Regions from separate parts of the Homo sapiens genome. Here region 1 is linked to region 2. Evidence: promoter capture Hi-C in human tissues and cell types (Jung and others, 2019). All regions are on one chromosome and are shown on one strand. Each heading gives the region's core, a stretch centred on a gene start or on the middle of the fragment in contact. The rest is flanking DNA. Distances are from core to core; before and after follow the strand shown. Region 1 has its middle 12 kb from the start of NALCN. Region 2 holds the start of BIVM (basic, immunoglobulin-like variable motif containing).

The links. Contacts are between HindIII fragments. The study calls those that stand out against the background at their distance.
Region 1: a fragment that was not itself captured here is called in contact with the fragment with the promoter of BIVM in region 2 in 1 of the 25 tissues and cell types used here (dorsolateral prefrontal cortex).

What each region holds. Positions count from the first base shown.
Region 1 is chr13:101,426,679-101,430,481 of GRCh38, forward strand. No RefSeq gene overlaps it. Among named protein-coding and RNA genes, the nearest start is that of NALCN, 12 kb to the left of the region's middle. The HindIII fragment of the contact is 4,586 bases long and covers 1-3,803 here.
Region 2 is chr13:102,797,583-102,801,480 of GRCh38, forward strand. BIVM (basic, immunoglobulin-like variable motif containing) reads left to right here and starts at 1,537. Exons shown (of 11, transcript NM_017693.4): 1 at 1,537-1,939. POGLUT2 (protein O-glucosyltransferase 2) reads right to left here and starts at 1,394. Exons shown (of 10, transcript NM_024089.3): 1 at 907-1,394. The coding sequence starts at 1,088. RefSeq lists an enhancer at 1,544-1,763 and silencers at 1,824-2,093, 2,654-2,703, 2,734-3,163. The HindIII fragment of the contact is 13,413 bases long and covers 1-3,898 here.

The DNA of each region.
Region 1 (3,803 bases), core at 697-3,196, 1.4 Mb before region 2:
CTCGATCTCCTGACCTCGTGATCCGCCCGCCTCGACCTCCCAAAGTGCTGGGATTACAGGTGTGAGCCACCGCGCCCAGCCACAAACGTTTCTATTTTTGAGAAGTCAGTGCTCAGTCTATATGTTTTTCTATTGATCTATCTTTTTATATGTGTGTATATATATATATTTACTCTTTGTGTTTGTTTTTCTGGAATTTCTCCATGATGGATTTATGTGTGGATGTCTTTTTATCTATTCTAGTTGAGATTTATTAGACTCGGAACTTATGGATTGGTATTAATTATTTCTTCTGCTTGTTCTCTCCTTCTGGGGCTCCAGTTTATGTACATTAGCCCATCACGCTTTATCCTTCATGTCTATGGATCTGTATTTCCTTTGTTCCTTTATTATGTATTCTGAATAGTTCATCTGACCTGTTTTTCAGTTCACTTATACACCTTGCTGCATCTAAAAAGCTATTAAACCAGTCTTTTCAGTTATTAATTTCAAATATTTATTTAGTTTTTGAAATGCTATTTGATTTTTTATGTGGCTAGCTGTTTTTTTATTTCCTACAGATATTTTTAGGTTGCTCTTTATTGACTTATGCTCTAAACATAATACAGTTATTTTATATTATATGTCTGGCAATTTCAAAGTCTAAATATTTTCTGGATCTGTTTTTGCAGTCTAATTTTTTCTGAAGATTCTTCATCATGGTGTCTAATTTTCTCTCTCTGTTGCTTATTTTTTCAACAAGTGGTCTCGAAAAATCTTTTACAAAATTTTTTGAGACTTAAGATGAAAATGGTTTCACTAGGGAGGATTTGTTTTAGCTTTTGTCAGACACCTAAAGACACCAACAGTCCATAGTACAAGGATGACCAAAATTCATGGCATGTGATTTTTTTTATCACCTGTGGGAAGGCATTTTGTCTAAAAATCTGTGCTAGTGCTTGCTCTTAGTTATAAATCCTTGGGGACAATGCTTCCTTATGCTCAGCTTCAAGGCAAATCTTGTCCTCTGTCTTCTCAAGTCTATGGAATCCAATGGAAGATTTATAGCTTTTTCTTTTGCTATAAACAAAAGTTTTATTTAAACTGGATAGGCAAATTCCCTTATGGTAGAAATGCCTTCAACCTCTGCTTATATTCCAGTATTCATTCTTGTTGCCTGCATTTCGCCTGATGATTGCTGACTGTCTTATCAGCTCTTGGATGCTTTTAGGAAGAATTAAAATTTTTAATATTTAGTCTAGCTTTTATAATTATATTTACCAGGAAGCTTAGCTAGAAAATCTAGACCACTTTTTCTCCAGAAACAGAAGTCACTGGACACTTCTTTGAATCTTTCACAAAATACTTGAGTAGATGTTTTCACCTCCTTGCTGCCACATGAACTATGGGGCATGCTTCTACCTTAGGGCCTTTGCACCTAGCCTTTCCTATAAAGTACTCTTCCCTCAGAAATCTTTTGAGCTCACTTGATCCTTCACTTGTTTGGGCTGTTTTTCAATTTTTATTTCAGAATTGGGGAACATGTGAGGGTTTGTTACAAAGGTATATTGCATGATGCTGAGGTTTGGAGTACAAATGTATCTGCCACCAAGGTAGTGAGTATAGCACTCTATAGGTAGTTTTGTTTTGTTTTGTTTTGAGACTGAGCCTCACTCTGTTACCCAGGCTGGAGTGCAGTGGCGCGATCTCAGCTCACTGCATCCTCCACCTCCCGGATTCAAGCAATTCTCGTGCCTCAGGCTCCCAAGTAGCTGGAACACAGGCGTGGGCCACCATGCCTGGCTAATTTTTGTATCTTTAGTAGAGATGGGATTTCACTATGTTGGCCAGGCTGGTCTTGAACTCCTGATCTCAGGTGTTCCACCCACCTCAGCCTCCCAAAGTACAGGGATTACAGATGTGAGCCACTGTGCTCAGCCTCTACAAGTAGTTTTTTCCAACCCTTATCCCCCTCCCTCCCTCCCTCCTCCCTCTTGTATTCCCCAGTGTCTATTGTTCCCATCTTTATGTCCGTGTGTACCCAATGTTTAGCTCCCACTTGTAAGTGTGAACATGCAGTTTTCTGTTTTGGTTTCTTGTTTCTGCATTAGTTCACTTAAGTCCTTCGCTTCCTGTATATTAACTTCCCAGTCAAACCTTCACTGTCTACCCCATCTAAAATGCCATCACCCCAATCCATATTTCTTATTTTTTCATTTAAAACAATCTTTACTCCTTAGTTCTTTTAGATACCCAACATTCTCTATATTTTACTTATCTTGCCCATTGTCCACACCACTGAAATAGAAGGTTCATCAGGGCAGGGGTTTTGTTTGTTTCACCCATTTGCTCTATCCTTAACACCTAGAACAGTGCTTAGCACATACTAGGCATTTAAAAATATGTATTGAATGAATAATGGAACAACTGCAGTCTTGGATCCTGTCTTTTAAGGACATAGACTAGTGTTTTAGAAATGCAGGACTGATGTAGCACAATTGAATTATTATGGAAATGTTGGAATAGCAAATTAGAATTACAGCTAAAAATAAATAAATTGCTAAACTTTGGGTCTGGCAAATAAGGGCATCTGTCAATAGTTTAAACAGGAGAGCAACCAATCATGCAAGTCAGTTGTAGAAGAGAGTGTACCTTGCACTGGAAGAAGAAAGCATAAACAGTACAAAGCATATTATTTCAGAGGATTTGTTCTCTACTCCCATAGTTTTACTTTTTAAAATTTAAAATATATGCTCTTTGAGAGTAGGGATTTCTGTCAGTTTAGTTCACTGCTATATTCTCTCCCTCAAAAGAGATCTTGTATATGCTGTGTGCAATAGTTACTTTTTGAATATGTGATATTATGAATATTGACATTGACATTATTGTTGAGTAAATTAAATTATACATATGATTATGACATGAATATAGCCATAGCTTACTCAGCAAGTCTTTTAGTGAGATGGTCAATAGAAACCCATGATTCAACTGGATATCTTGATAGGCCACCTGGAATTAAGTCTTCAATGAACAATGTTTATAGAAAAGCGGATTTTGGTGTCAAAGCAAAAGCTACTGCAGAAATAAGCATCTCTTTTGTACATAAGTCTCTGCCTATCTACCAGGGTAGTTTAGAGGTATTGCCTATAAGTCACTTGTAGCAAAAGGTATGCTCTGTGCATATATAGATGGAGCCACTAGTAGTCCAGCCTTTCTGTGAAGAAAACAGCACCCTCTATTATGGGGTGACTCAACACATATCAGGGATTATGGCTTGGAGAAAATATAGCAAGGCCTGGATTTCAGCCCCATGCATTCCCTCAGCCAGGTGTCTGTGCAAAGCATGACTTGCACAATCCGATATAGTGAGCTCATGTGTGGATGGCTTTCCAGAATGTTAGTTTGCATGTCTACTAGCGGTGCACCGTGAGCCTGCCTCACCCATCCTCTTCAGTGTTATAGTCTATAGTCTTTCCAGTTGAAATGATGAAAAATCATATCTCATTGTTTTGTTATTTTACCTTTTCTTGCTTACCTGGTGAGTTTGACTTTTGAACTACGTTTTTATGTATTTCTTGTTTTTATGACCTTTTTCTACAATTTGCTTATTTTGTTGGAAAACTAACATTTTATTATCAATTTATAAAATTTGATAAGATATATGTTGCTATATATATGTGTGAATGTGTACGCATTTATACATATACACAAATTATGTATATGAAGACATATATGTTGCTATTATTTTGCCAAGCTTATTATAATACATAGAAGAATATACTTTTTCTCTTCAGTGGTTCTAACAGTTGTAGACTTTTAGTGAA
Region 2 (3,898 bases), core at 287-2,786:
TAAAAAACAAATAGCCAGGCGAGGTGGCACACGCCTGTAGTCCCAACTACTAGGGAGGCTGAGGTGGGAGGATAGCTTCAGCCTGGGAGGTTGAGGGTACAGTGAGCTGTGATTGCACCACTGCACTCCAGACTAGGCTAGGAAGTGAAACCCTGTCTTAAAAAAAAAAAACTCACGCTCAGCCATGGGCAAAAGCAAAGTAGTAGGTAGTGTATCATCTTTTGCCAAATAACAAAATTTACAACCTGCCTTTTACTTGACAACCTTTTATTCCAGTATTTTTTTCTGTATGAAATACACACAGTCAGCATCCACCAATAATAGAGACAATCATTTCAGAAGTATAGGAATTATAAAAATAAGTTTTAAGTATGATGTTAAAGTATTAAATTCATTGGAACAAAATATTTGTTACAATCATATAGGAGATTAATACTTCGATACTTTCCTTCCGAACTCTGAAGTTTCAAATAGTACTTCATTTTTCTTTTTCAGTTTCAAAACATGCTTACCTGCAGATGTCTCCTTGAAAATTGAGGGCCGCACCAGAGAAAGATGAAGCCCATCAAGTCTCTAACAACTAGGTTTAAATCCCTTATAATAGCTTATGCGAAAAGTAGTTAGAAACAGTATTTCCAGCAAAGTGGAGGGACTTTGTCTTGCCCTGATAATGTGGGAATCTGAATCAAAATTGCTAGGAGATTATTTTATATGTTATATACAATACATTATATTGCATATATTATAATTCGGAACAATTTCTACAGCTACAGAGAAAAATGGGTAACCAAATATCCTGGAATATAAACTGCTGTGGAGAAACGAGTTCTTGGAAAGAAAAATCTTAAAGGGAGAAACAGATTTAACCGCCATCCAAAATAGGTAAGGAGCCGTTTCTCGACTTACTTATTCCCTGATGTATCCACTGCCTGAATATAGAAATAGCGGGCGGGAAGGACGACGTCTGCTTTTAGCCCGGGTCCCCATATTTCGCTCTTCTCCGGGCTCAGCTGCCTTTCTCCGCCGGTCTCGGCGAGTGCTGGAACTGTCGCCAGAAAGAAGCAATAAAGTAGCAAAGTGCCAAACATTTACAAGACGGACTCTCGAAATGATCCACCGATAAATGAAGAAGTGTAAGAGGTGGACAGAAGCAGCCGAGCCTTCGGCAGGGACCCGCCGGCCGATCGCAGCAGCCAACGCGACTGCAAAGGTTGCCGCCCGGCGTGCAGGGCAGGCGCGCGGGTCTCCGCGACCCCAGGACAATCAAAGCCCGTGCCCCGGCGCGCCCAGGTGAGGGTCCCCTGGCGTTCTGCTGTCCCGGCCGAGAACCGCGCTGCTCCTCTCTCTCAGGACAATGATGAACTTGAGTTGCTCCTGCCACTGGAGCATCATTTGGGAGCGAATCCGTCTCAGGTTCCAGCCAAGGTGTAGGGCGAGGGGATTGGCCCGTGCGTCGGGCCAGGCTCAGTAACGCCTTCTCCAAGTGGATGGCGGGGTGGACACGCGTCCCGGCGCCCCGGGCTCCCTGGGATATGTAGTTCGCGACAGGACGAGCGGAAATACTGCCAGGATTTTACCACCTCTCGCCCATTTATTTACTTCTCGGTCACCGCTTTCGGGGGACAGATAAACACCACAGATGCCCATCAAAGGGGCGCACGGGTCTGGAGGCGCAGCTCAGGTTTTTGCGTTGGTCACCCTGCCCTCCGCACGTGGAGAGGGCAGGCATAAAGCACCTTGAAAGGAAGGTGCTGTCAATGCTATCCGACGACCTGTCGCCGGGCACCGCAGCATCCTCGCTCGCTCCGATGGGACGAGGGACGCCGGCCCCAGGGTAACAGGAGGCGCCTCGCCGGCCGCGCGCTGGATGCTGTGATCCAGGTCCGGAGCCGGGTTCCGCCGCGGCCGCAGCGACCCGACCCCACCCGACAGGCCAGAGGTACCCCGGGGCGGGGGGCAGGGGCCGAGGTGGCGGCCGGCTGTGCGCTCTGAGCGCCTGGCCCTCCGCTGGGCACCTGGGCGCCGCCAGCCCGGCCTGCTGCCGCTCTACGCGCAGCCACCTGGGCATTCAAAATTTTTACTTAATTCGATACCGGCCTGGGCTGCCAGGGGTCATCGCCTCTCCGAGCCCCGTGGCGTCCAGATGGAGGCCACTGCATGGGTGCGCGCTCTCCCGGGAAGGAGTAGGGGGAAGAGCTGTGTCGCGGGGGGAAGAGAAGCGCCAGGGAAAGAAGGGCCTAGCCCTCTGGTGAACAAAGCTCGATTAGGAGGTGTCCATGTGGATACCGGTGACCCCTGTGCGGCCGTCGGTCTCCACGCCACGCTGGGCAGGGTCCGGGAACCAGCGCGCAGCGGCCGTCGCCTTCCCCTGCACGCCAGCACCCGGGTCTGGGCCGCCGCCAGGAGTCACGGGCTCACCGCCCTGGTCAGCTTGGCAGTCGGACCCGGAGCCGCCTCCTCTGCCTGCCTCCCTCTTGCCAGCTGCCCCGAAAACCCAGAAGAGCCGGTGGCTCCGAGCCAAGGCGGGCCTGGTTCGGCGCCAGGAAAGGGGGTTTCTTTCCTATTTTCTTTTGTGCAATTGTCATTATTAATGATACCGACTCGTTTACTCAAACAGTCGAATCGGAGCCCCAGCTCTTAGCCCGGATGCAGCAATTGCCCGTGGGCCCCCTTTAACACCAACAGCGTCCCCGGGGCCCGGGGCAAGCATGTTCGAGGCGGTCACCCCCGGGCCTCGGCGCGCTCCCCCTGGCGGAGAGCCTCGTCTTCCGGCCGGTGAGGGAAGGTAGAGGAGGGAGTAGGGGCGAGGAGGCCTCGGCGGCCCTTGGGCTCTGCGGGCTGGGGACTCGGGGTGCCCGCGACACGCGCGGAGGCGCGGGCTGGGTTGGCCACGGGCAGGGAGCGCAGCCGCGCTCCTTCCTCTCTGCCCGCGTCGCCTCCGCGCGCACTGGTTCTGCGCGGCGGGGCTTGGCCTGCGCGACTGTCTACTCCGTCCCGGCGGCCTCGGAGCCCGGCCGAGCGGCGAGCTTGTCAGAGGACGGTGGTGGAAACGCTCCCGGCCTCCCCAGGGGCGCGGGCTGGAGGCTGGCGCCAGGCGCGGAGGACTCCCGGTATCTTTTGACAGGCTGGCGCCTCGGCTCTGGGGACCCGCAGGTCTGAAGGGGAGGAAGGGGCCTGGAGGGCGCGGGAGGACACCGGGTGGGAAGGGTGGCATTAGCTCGGCCGGGGGCTATGCGCCTCTGGTTTCGCCCTCCCGCGCATATTCGACCCTTACGAGGTCACCGGAATGCCCCTGCTCCTCAGTTGCCTTCTATACAGGATATCGATCAGGGTATTTTGTTATACGAAAAGGCTTTACTGAAGAGGTTTTTAGAGATGTTTGGTTCTCTCATAAACTTGATACTTGAGAATACAGACAAAATATAACCTGAAAAGACTACAACCTAGGCGATGAAGATTGGCTTTACAAATGGACGTTTATTTTACAGAACACTTCGTTCAGTGACTTTGAACAATCATGACTCTGGCGGTGCTTTTTAAACTTGCCATTTTATAAATTTTTGCTTTGCATACGAGCAAACCATATTTCTATTGCTTATGACATGATTTTATGAGTAAGCTATTAGTTGAGCCTGAGGTCCTGCAGTCATTCTTAGTAGTAAATTTTTTTTTTTTTTTTTTTGAGACGGAGTTTTGCTCTGATCGCCCAGGCTGGAGTGCAATGGTGCAACTGTAACCTCCACCTCTGGTGTTCAGCGATTCTCCAGCCTTGCCTCCTGAGTAGCTGGGCCTACACGCATGCGCCACCATGCACGGCTAATTTTGTATTTTTTTATTTTTTATTTTTTTTTAGTAGAAACGGGTCTCACCATGTTGGCCAGGCTGGCCTCAAACTCCT